Regions from separate parts of the Homo sapiens genome. Here region 1 is linked to region 2. The links are contacts of gene promoters, found by promoter capture Hi-C in blood cells and fetal thymus (Javierre and others, 2016). All regions are on one chromosome and are shown on one strand. Each heading gives the region's core, a stretch centred on a gene start or on the middle of the fragment in contact. The rest is flanking DNA. Distances are from core to core; before and after follow the strand shown. Region 1 overlaps NTN4 (netrin 4). Region 2 holds the start of NTN4 (netrin 4).

Region 1 (4,551 bases), core at 1,741-4,240, 120 kb after region 2:
GTAGTTCTCATGCATCATTTTTTTTTACTGCAGTACAATGTTTTCCCAAATTTGATGGAAATAGTTTGAAATTTTCACCACTATAAAACTTGATATCGATTTTTGATAGGTAGCCTTTATCAAGTAAATGTCATTCTCTTCTATTTCTAATTTTATCGTTAATGAGTTTTGCTTTTAGCTGAATGCCTTCTCTGCATCTTTTGAGAAAATCAGATGGTTTTCCTCCTGTAATCTATCAATGTGGTATTTGAAAATAATTTTTTTCCGGTATCAAACTATTCTTTTTTTTTTTTTTTTTTTACTTTAAGTTCTAGGATACATGTGCAGAGTGTGCAGGTTTGTTACATAGGTATACATGTGCCATAGTGGTTTGCTGCACCTATCAACCCCTCATCTAGGTTTTAAGCCCTGCACGCATTAGGTATTTGTCCTAATGCTCTCCCTCCCCTCGCCCCCCACACCCCTAATAGGCCCCAGTGTGTGTTGTTCCCCTACCTGTGTCCATGTGTTCTCATTGTTCAACTCCCACTTATAAGTGAGAATATATGGTGTTTGGTTTTCTGTTCCTGTGTTAGTTTGCTGAGAATGATGGCTTCCAGCTTCATCCACGTCCCTGCAAAGGACATGAACTCATCCTTTTTTATGGCTGCGTAGTATTCCATGGTGTATATGTGTCACATTTTCTTTATCCAGTCTATCATTGATGGTCATTTGGGTTGGCTCCAAGTCTTTGCTATTGTAAATAGTGCTGCAATAAACATACGTGTGCAGGTGTCTTTATAGTAGAATGATTTAGAATCCTTTGGGTGTATACCCAGTAATGGGATTGCTGGGCCAAATGATATTTCTGGTTCTAGACCCTTGAGGAATCACCACACTGTCTTCCACAATGGTTGAACTAGTTTACACTCCTGCCAACAGTGTAAATGCATTCCTATTTCTCTACAGCCTTGCCAGCATCTGTTGTTTGTCAGAATGGCAATTATTATCAAGCTATTCTTTTAGTCTTAGGATAAGTTTTATTTGCTGTGATGTATTTTTATTCATACGTTGCTGAATTTGATCTGCTAGGGTTTTTATCTTTCATTTATTTATTTGCTTGCTTAGGATTTTCATATTGATGTTTATAACTGATATTGGCCTATAATTTAATGTATTGCATTGTATATTTGAGAAAGTTAGGAGGTCCCCTTACCCACTACGTTTTTTTTCTATTCTCTGCAATTATTTATATAAAAATAGAATCATCTGTTACTTGAATTTTTGTTAGAATTTATCTATAAAACCATTGAGACACAGTGTCTATGAGTAGACGAAAGTATTACTGATTCAATATCTGTCATGGTTATTAATTTGTTTTATTTGTGATTTGGTGTTGGTAATCAAAGTTTTCTAGAAAATTACCGATTCTTTTTTTTTTTGAGTTGGAGTCTCACTCTGTCACCCAGGCTGGAGTGCAGTGGTGCAATCTCGGCTCACTGCAACCTCTGCCTCCCGGGTTCAAGCAATTCTCAGCCTCCCAAGTAGCTGGGACTACAGGCGCATGCCACCATGCCCAGCTAATTTTTTGTATTTTTAGTAGAGATGGGGTTTCACAGTGTCAGCCAAGATGGTCTAGATCTCCTGACCTTAAGATCCACCCACCTCAGCCTCCCGAAGTGCTGGGATTACAGGCGTGAGCCACCTTGCCCAGCCACCAATTATTTTAATTTTAAAAAATTGTATTGGCATAGAGTTATACATGGTATTCACTCATAATTTATTTAACCTTTACTCAATCTGTCCTTAATCTTCTTTTTGTCCCTAAGCTTATCTGTGCCTTTTTTCTTATTGTCTTATACTGATCTTAATTTGCTTCTCTCAGAGATTAACTTTTGGTTAACTTGATCCAACCTATTTAATTTTTCTTTATTTCACTAATTCTGCTCTTATCTTTATTTTTTTTTTATGTTTTCTCTAAGTTTGCTTTTTTAGTCCTTTTCTGCCTTTGTGAGTCCAGTGATTATTAACTCACTTACTTTTAGTCTTTCTTATTTTTAGCAAGTACTCTTAAGGTTATACATTTCCTTATAAGATCTTTTAGCTGGATCCTATTGGCCTTTATATGTAGTATCTTCATTATCATTCAAGTTCTAATGTTTTTCTAATTTCCATTAAGAATTTCGCTTTAATCCATTGAGTTGTCTAGGATATTTAATTGTTCAAACATCAGGGTTTTTAGAATATTTTTTTTTTTTACCCGGGGCTGGGCACAGTGGCTCACACCTGCAATCCCAGCACTTTGGGAGGCCGAAGTGGGTGGATCACCTGAGGTCAGGAGTTGGAGACCAGCCTGGCCAACATGACAAAACCCCGTCTCTACTTAAAAATACAAAAAAATTAGCTGGGTGTGGTGGCGCGTACCTGTGATCCCAGCTACTTGGGAGGCTAAGGCAGGAGAATCACTTGAACCTGGAAGGCAGAGGTTGCAGTAAAGTGAGATCAGGCTACTGCACTCCAGCCTGGGTGACAGAGGGAGACTCCATCTCAAAAACAAAAAAACAAAAAAGAATATTTGTTTACTGATTATCTCTAATCTAATTTCATTGTATTATATCTATTCTTTGAAAACCAGGAGGGCAACTTGGATTCATTTCTAGGTCACTTAAGGACTAGCTACATAATTTGCAGGACTAGATGCTGGATGAAATGCAGAGCCCTTTTTAAGAATGTCATCAAGTGGCCATGAATAATAGTTTGGAGTTTTGTGTACGTGGTTGGTTTATTGTTTTTTCCCAGCCTCCTTTCATTAGCAAGGAGAGCCTTACCCAATCTGTCTTTAAAAAGTGAGTCTGACTGTGATCTCTTTTTTGTCCTATTAACTCCTTTGTATCTGAACTCCTGACCACTGCTGCCTGATTCTGAAAGCGGACCCCAAAGCCCTATCCCCCGAATGCACATTCATTCATTTCTTTTCTTTCTTTACATTTTTTTTAAATTCAAGAAGTATCAACAAATTGAAAACATTCATTTCTAGTCCACAGAGATAAATATCTAGTTTTTGATGCAGGCTATGTCTTTTTTTCCGTCCTTTATCTAATATTGCTATGTGCTTGGAGCTGAGGATGTGCTGAAGTATGAATTCACAAAGTTGTGTTGATTGAGAATGTCTGTGATAATTTTCCCAACATTTTATTATGAAAAATTTCAGACATCCAGAAAAGTTTTAGAAGTTGTGCATTCACATACCCGCCACCTAAATTCTATCCACCCATCAATCCACATTTTAGATCAGAAAGAAATCACAGTTTTAAAACCTTCTCATAGAGAACATATGGACCCTTCAAGAATCAAGAACCTAAATCTGAGAAACAAGGTTATTTGCCCATCTGTATCATGGTTTTTTCACTTAACATAATCTCGTGATAATTTTCCTAATGGCTTCATGTTCAATCACAACAGGAAAGAAGGTGCGAAAGAGAAGGCAACATGAAGTTATCATATTTATCTTTTCAGCATTTGAAAAAGAAAACAAGTCTTTACTATGAATTTTTTTTGCCTTAATGCTATGTAGTCTGGAATTTTATGATTTTAACTTTAATAGCCACTTTTAAAGGTGTTCTTCTATTTTTCTAAGCACACAATGACTTTTTATAATTCTCCAAGTTTGCTAAACCAAATCTGTAATAATCCAGTTTTTAGGACTATAGGACATTCACTAAGCCCATCATGCATGTTATTAGAGAGTTGGCAGCATTCCAGCCAAGCACATAAAGTGCTGGCACCAGAATGACTGCAGACTCTCATGTCCACAGCAGCTGTTAGGTCTGTGATGTCCCCAGAGAGTCTCTGAAATTCATCTGGATGAACGCCAGATTGAGGAAGACTTTATTGAGTTCCCTGCATTGGGTATAGAATGGTGCTTCTGAGCACCTTTTTCAACAAGTGTTCTAAGCACTGAAAACAATCTACCTACCTATATACCTCCCATAAGTTTCCATAAAAACAGCTTTCAACTAGGAGTATAATATACTTTACCAACAAAACACCCTTAATTTCTACCACTTCTTATACCAGATGTAAAATTTCACTTCCTAAATAACAAAACTGGCCTTAACTAGTACCACAGAACTGTAAACAATGCTCTTTTTTTTTTTAATGTCCTAATAACCTAGCATAACTAAACAAGCTTTTCTTCCCTTCCAGATTTCTTTTAAGAAAACACATCTGGGCTGAAGCCTGATCAACAAATATTGTTTGAGCTCTAAGCATATGAAAAAGAAGTATTGGAAAGCAGCCAAAGAAAGGTCATCAAACAATAGACCTATGTCTGCTCTTCTAGGCTGAAGGGTTAAAGAGAAAAGCATTGTGTTGAGGAACAGTATATGCCATTTGGAGTTCCATTAGGTTTTATAGCACAGTAGTTACTGTACTCTTCTGCTTTGTGGAATTATCAAAGGCCATAGGCTATTCACTTAGGTTACTACAATTTCTTTTCTTTTTTTTTTGGCAGAGTCTCACTTTGTTGTCCAGGCTGGAGTGCAGTGGTGCCATCATGGCTTACTGCAGCCT
Region 2 (4,371 bases), core at 533-3,032:
AAGCATTCTATATTTTTAGCAATATATTGTACTCTTGAAAAATGCTAAGACAGTGAGTGTATTCTTAAATGCATGTTAATATGCAAAAATGCATATGTTCATTGGCTAGATTTAGTCATTCCACGCTGTATACATATTTCAAAACATCATGTTGTACATGATAAATACATACAAGTTTATTTGTTAATTAAAAAACAGAAATGGATTAGTTCTGCCTAAATATACTAGACTCAGAAGTTAATAATAAATGTGCATCCACCCCTTTGTTTAATTTGCCTTGGCTATTAAGTTAACATTTATGCTAAGAACCTTTGGCTGTTATAGTTTCCTATCATTTATTTGGTAAAAAGATTAATTGGAGAGGTGTTTCAATGGCTCCATTAGGAGATATGAAGAAAGCCCCACCATTGCCAGTATTTGGGAACTCAAAGCGTTTATTTTCTAAAGCAGGTGATGCTACATGAATTGCTGTCCACACCTTCTGCTACTTTCCTCTGTTGGCCAGAAGAATAATTTTAATGTCGCCCAAATGGATTATGCTGACCTCAACCCAGATCCCCCTGGGAGATATAAACTTCTTATATGTTCCTGGCTGGGTCATTGTAAATAATATCTACATGTATCCCAAAGCTCTGAATTATCCTCATCTGTAACAGACACAACGACTAAATGGTATCTGGAACGTAGTTAATTTTCTGGAAAATATTCAAAGGAACAAAATGAGCACTGCAATACAAAATTGCTGTCGACTTAACTTTTGCCAGTTTCCCTGGATGTGTAAGTAGAATTATATTTTCACAGAACTTGCAAAAATCTCAGACTCGGCTGCTATTTAATCTCTTTCCAGAAGCACCAGCCCTGAGCAATCCTATCTGCAATTAGCTGCGTGTGGTTGCTACTAAATTGCTCCCCATAAGTTAGTTCCTAACACTGTTTCACAGCACGGCATACTCTATAAAGGGAGAACGCTTGGAAGGACCGAAGAGTTCCCTTTGTCGTGCCCTTGCCCTGCCTCTGGACAACGATGTTCTTACACTGCCGACTAGCTAATCCTGTGACCCTTTTCTTTCAGCACCTTGAGTTTGAGTTAGGCAATACCTCTTACACCAAAGTGGGCACACCTTCGGATCATGTAGGCAGCGATTGTTTAGCCGAGACATCCCCCTACCCCCGCAAAAGGCAGCAGAGAAGCGGCGAACGCCGCTTAGCAGTTGGCGCGCTCTCAGTGCGGGTGACGCGGGGCTGGGTTGGGGTGTTCCGTCCCCGGGTCGTGGGACTCCCCGAGAGGGGGTGGCTGGAGGAGGAGGGAGGGCTTGTTTCGCTGGGGGATGTGGGAAGTAGGCGCTAGCCTGTTTCGCGGTTTTTTAAGCCCCTTGGCATGCCCTGACCTGATCTAGAGGGAGTCTACTGCTCTTAGGAATGTTCCGGGAGAAGGTGGGAGATTGCTTCCCAGGGGAGGCCTGTGGGTGCTGCAGGGCACCAGGGGGGTCACTAGGGAGATGCAGGGCGCGGGCCAGGAGGGGCGCCAGGGCAGCCGGGGGCCAGGCTGAGGCGACCGGGACCAGCGGGCAGCCGGGCGTCGGGGGCGTCGGTCGGGGCGCGGGGGACCCCCCCCCCGGGCGGCAGCGGCAGCGGCGATCCGATCCCGCGGGCTGCGCCGCCCGGGCTGTCAAGCGCGGGGGGCGGGCGGGAGGAAGGGGTGGAGGTGCGAGGGGAGGAGGGCTGGCACCGGAGCGCCGCGGCGTCGGTGCAATAAAAATGCATCGCATGGAACTGCCCGTGGAGAAGGACGGGACGGAGCCGGGGCAGCCAGAAGAGGTGGGAAAAGCGGAGGAGGACGCCCAGGAGGAGGCGGCGGCGGCGGCCGGGAAGTGAAAGGTCTCGCAAAGTTCAGCGGCGGCTGCGGGCGCCGAGCCCCGGGCTAGCGGCAGACGAGCCCGCAGGGCCGCTCCGCGGGGCAGCGCAGCCAGGCCGGCTATGGTCCCGGGGCTCCCGCCGCCCCCCAGGTGCCCGGGACCCGCCAGGCCGGTGCGCGAGGGTCACCCCACCTCCCCGCGCGGTCCCGGCCCCTGGCTCCCAGCTGCCGGCGACCGCTGACCGAGCCCGGCGCCCCAGGAGGAGGAAGAAACCAGGGCCCCGTTCCCTCCCGAGGACGGCGGCGCTTCATCCCGCAGCCCAGAGGTCTCGGCTCCCTCCGGCACCCGCCCGGCCCGGCTGCTCCCGGCTCCTCCCGGCCATGGGGAGCTGCGCGCGGCTGCTGCTGCTCTGGGGCTGCACGGTGGTGGCCGCAGGTGGGTGGTGACGCGGCGGGGCCCCCACCCCTTCCCTCGCTGCTTCTCTAACCCATCTCGGGACTCGGGGGTGCAGGGGAGCCAGGGCTGCGAGCGCAGAGCGCTGCTCCCGAGGGTGAAATGAGTGGCCATGTTCCGCCTCCTTTCCCCGGGGCTCCGCAGTTTCAAATACTATTGATTTATTTTTACAACTGGGATACACATGCGCTTGGATAACCAGCTATCCTGGGTGCGCCCTGCCGGGGATACTGCGACCGGGGTTTCTTTCTTGGTTTGGCTTGTTAAAAAACTGCTTTTCCACTTGGTGAGGGAACAAAGGACCCAGCTCGCCATCCCCCGGCACTTCATGGCCTAAGGAATGATGAGGAGGGGTGGCCCAGCGACCCTGGGCGCGCGTGGGCTGGGGCCGGTCTCTGGTAGAAGCCCATCGCTGGTGTCCCTGACCTGGTGCTGGGTACTAGAGAACCAGGTAAGGACACCTGGGGCAGGGCTGAGCGCCCTCTCCCCGGAGCAGTGACTGGAACGCAGTGGGACTCCTGGCTTGGACGATAGGTGGTGATCACCCCGGGCTTGCATTGAGCTGGCTGGCCGCCCCTGGGGAATTGGTACCCTGGCAGAGACTCTGCGGGAGGTCGGAGGCGGGTCTGCTCCCTGGCTCGGTAACTGGACAACCGGCGTCGGCGTCGGCAGATGCCCTCTCCCTCCCACTCCCATCCTGGCTTTCTTGGGCTGCCCTAGGCCACCGGCTCCTGGCTCGTGGTTTCTGTATTCGGGAGCCCCTTCTGCTCCTCTCCCTCCCTCTTGCGGGTCACCTGGTTTCCAGTTAGGCGTAAGCGCAGCCCTGTAGGTGAGGGGGAGAGATGTGAGGGAGTCTGCAGACATCCAGTCTCTCGTGCGGATCTTGACTGCTTCAGAAAGGGGCGCCTGGGCTAGAGGGATGCGCTGGTGGCTACAGAACATTGTAGCACGCATCTCCTCCCTTGGGCTTCCACTCTTCCCTGAGGGCCGCTGGCACCCAGCAAAATCCAGGCTTTCCAGTCTGCATCCCAAACCAGTCCAAGTCACAGGAGCATCCTTAGTATCATTGAATAGTCCCTTGAGTGACTCCAAGTATTTTGCCCCATGGATTCTTTATCTGGCTCAAATCTTTTCTGGACTTAGGAGTTTAGGGGCATTTAAAATTATTGGATATTTTTCCCAGGGACCTATTAAAGGCCTAAGATTTTACTTTAATTCTTGCACTCTTAAAATATGAGCTTTAAAAAAAACCTTTTCCTTCTCAAACCATATTATGGCAAAAACATGCAAGCCATTGAAAGGTTGTAAATAAACATCACAAGGCAAGTGTTTCAAGTCAAAAATACTTGTACAGGCAGTATATGATTTTCCTTGAAATTTTTTACAGGTGAGTCATAGCACATTGTGTGTTTGTGTGCTTCTGGCCACAAGCAACTGTTGCCCCAGCTAATGAGAAAAGTGGCAAACAGAACCCAGGCATAATGCACACTTTAATTTGACATTTAAAAAATAATGCCTAAGGAAGCCCTTTAGTTGCAAGGCTTCGTGGGGTTGGCCATTGTCAGTGTGTGAAATGTCTCTGTTGCAGCCTAAGCTGTCATTTGGCCTCCTCCAATCCTTACTATGACAACAGTTCAGAGGTACTGCTTCTTAAGCAGCAGAAACATTCAATTAGCCAGAATTTAAGGGTTGATTTCCTTTTCCCTCTTTCCCCCTCTGTTTTAACCTTTAAAATAGATGATTTTTGCTTAAGGTATTCACAATTAAAATGACAAACGCAAATCAAAGGATTATAGTATGTACTCAGAATGTTAATAAGTGGATAATGTTTATCATTTTAAGTCATTTTAAAACATTAAAGTCTGTTGGACCTTTGGGAGGAAAAGTGTGTTTTTTAAAGAAGGTCTTGTAGTTCACAGATAATATTTAAAGGTGCTGTTAGTGGCTGCCAGACTGTAGACACTCTCCTGTTAAGCAAACAGTTAACTACTCTATAACCTGTCACAGGTAGAAACCCTGAAGAGACAGCATGTAAAATAAGCTTTTCTGCCATTTGGCAGTT

The links. Contacts are between HindIII fragments. The CHiCAGO score rates a contact against its expected background, and 5 or more counts as called.
Region 1: a fragment that was not itself captured here is called in contact with the fragment with the promoter of NTN4 in region 2 in 1 of 17 cell types (endothelial precursors); the score reaches 5.9 in endothelial precursors.

What each region holds. Positions count from the first base shown.
Region 1 is chr12:95,674,099-95,678,649 of GRCh38, reverse strand. The region is part of intron 7 of NTN4 (netrin 4); the gene reads left to right. Among named protein-coding and RNA genes, the nearest start is that of NTN4, 110 kb to the left of the region's middle. The HindIII fragment of the contact is 2,360 bases long and covers 1,811-4,170 here.
Region 2 is chr12:95,788,175-95,792,545 of GRCh38, reverse strand. It overlaps NTN4 (netrin 4), which reads left to right and starts at 1,782. Exons shown (of 10, transcript NM_021229.4): 1 at 1,782-2,291. The coding sequence starts at 2,237. It also overlaps the pseudogene RNU6-247P. The HindIII fragment of the contact is 5,039 bases long and covers 1-4,352 here.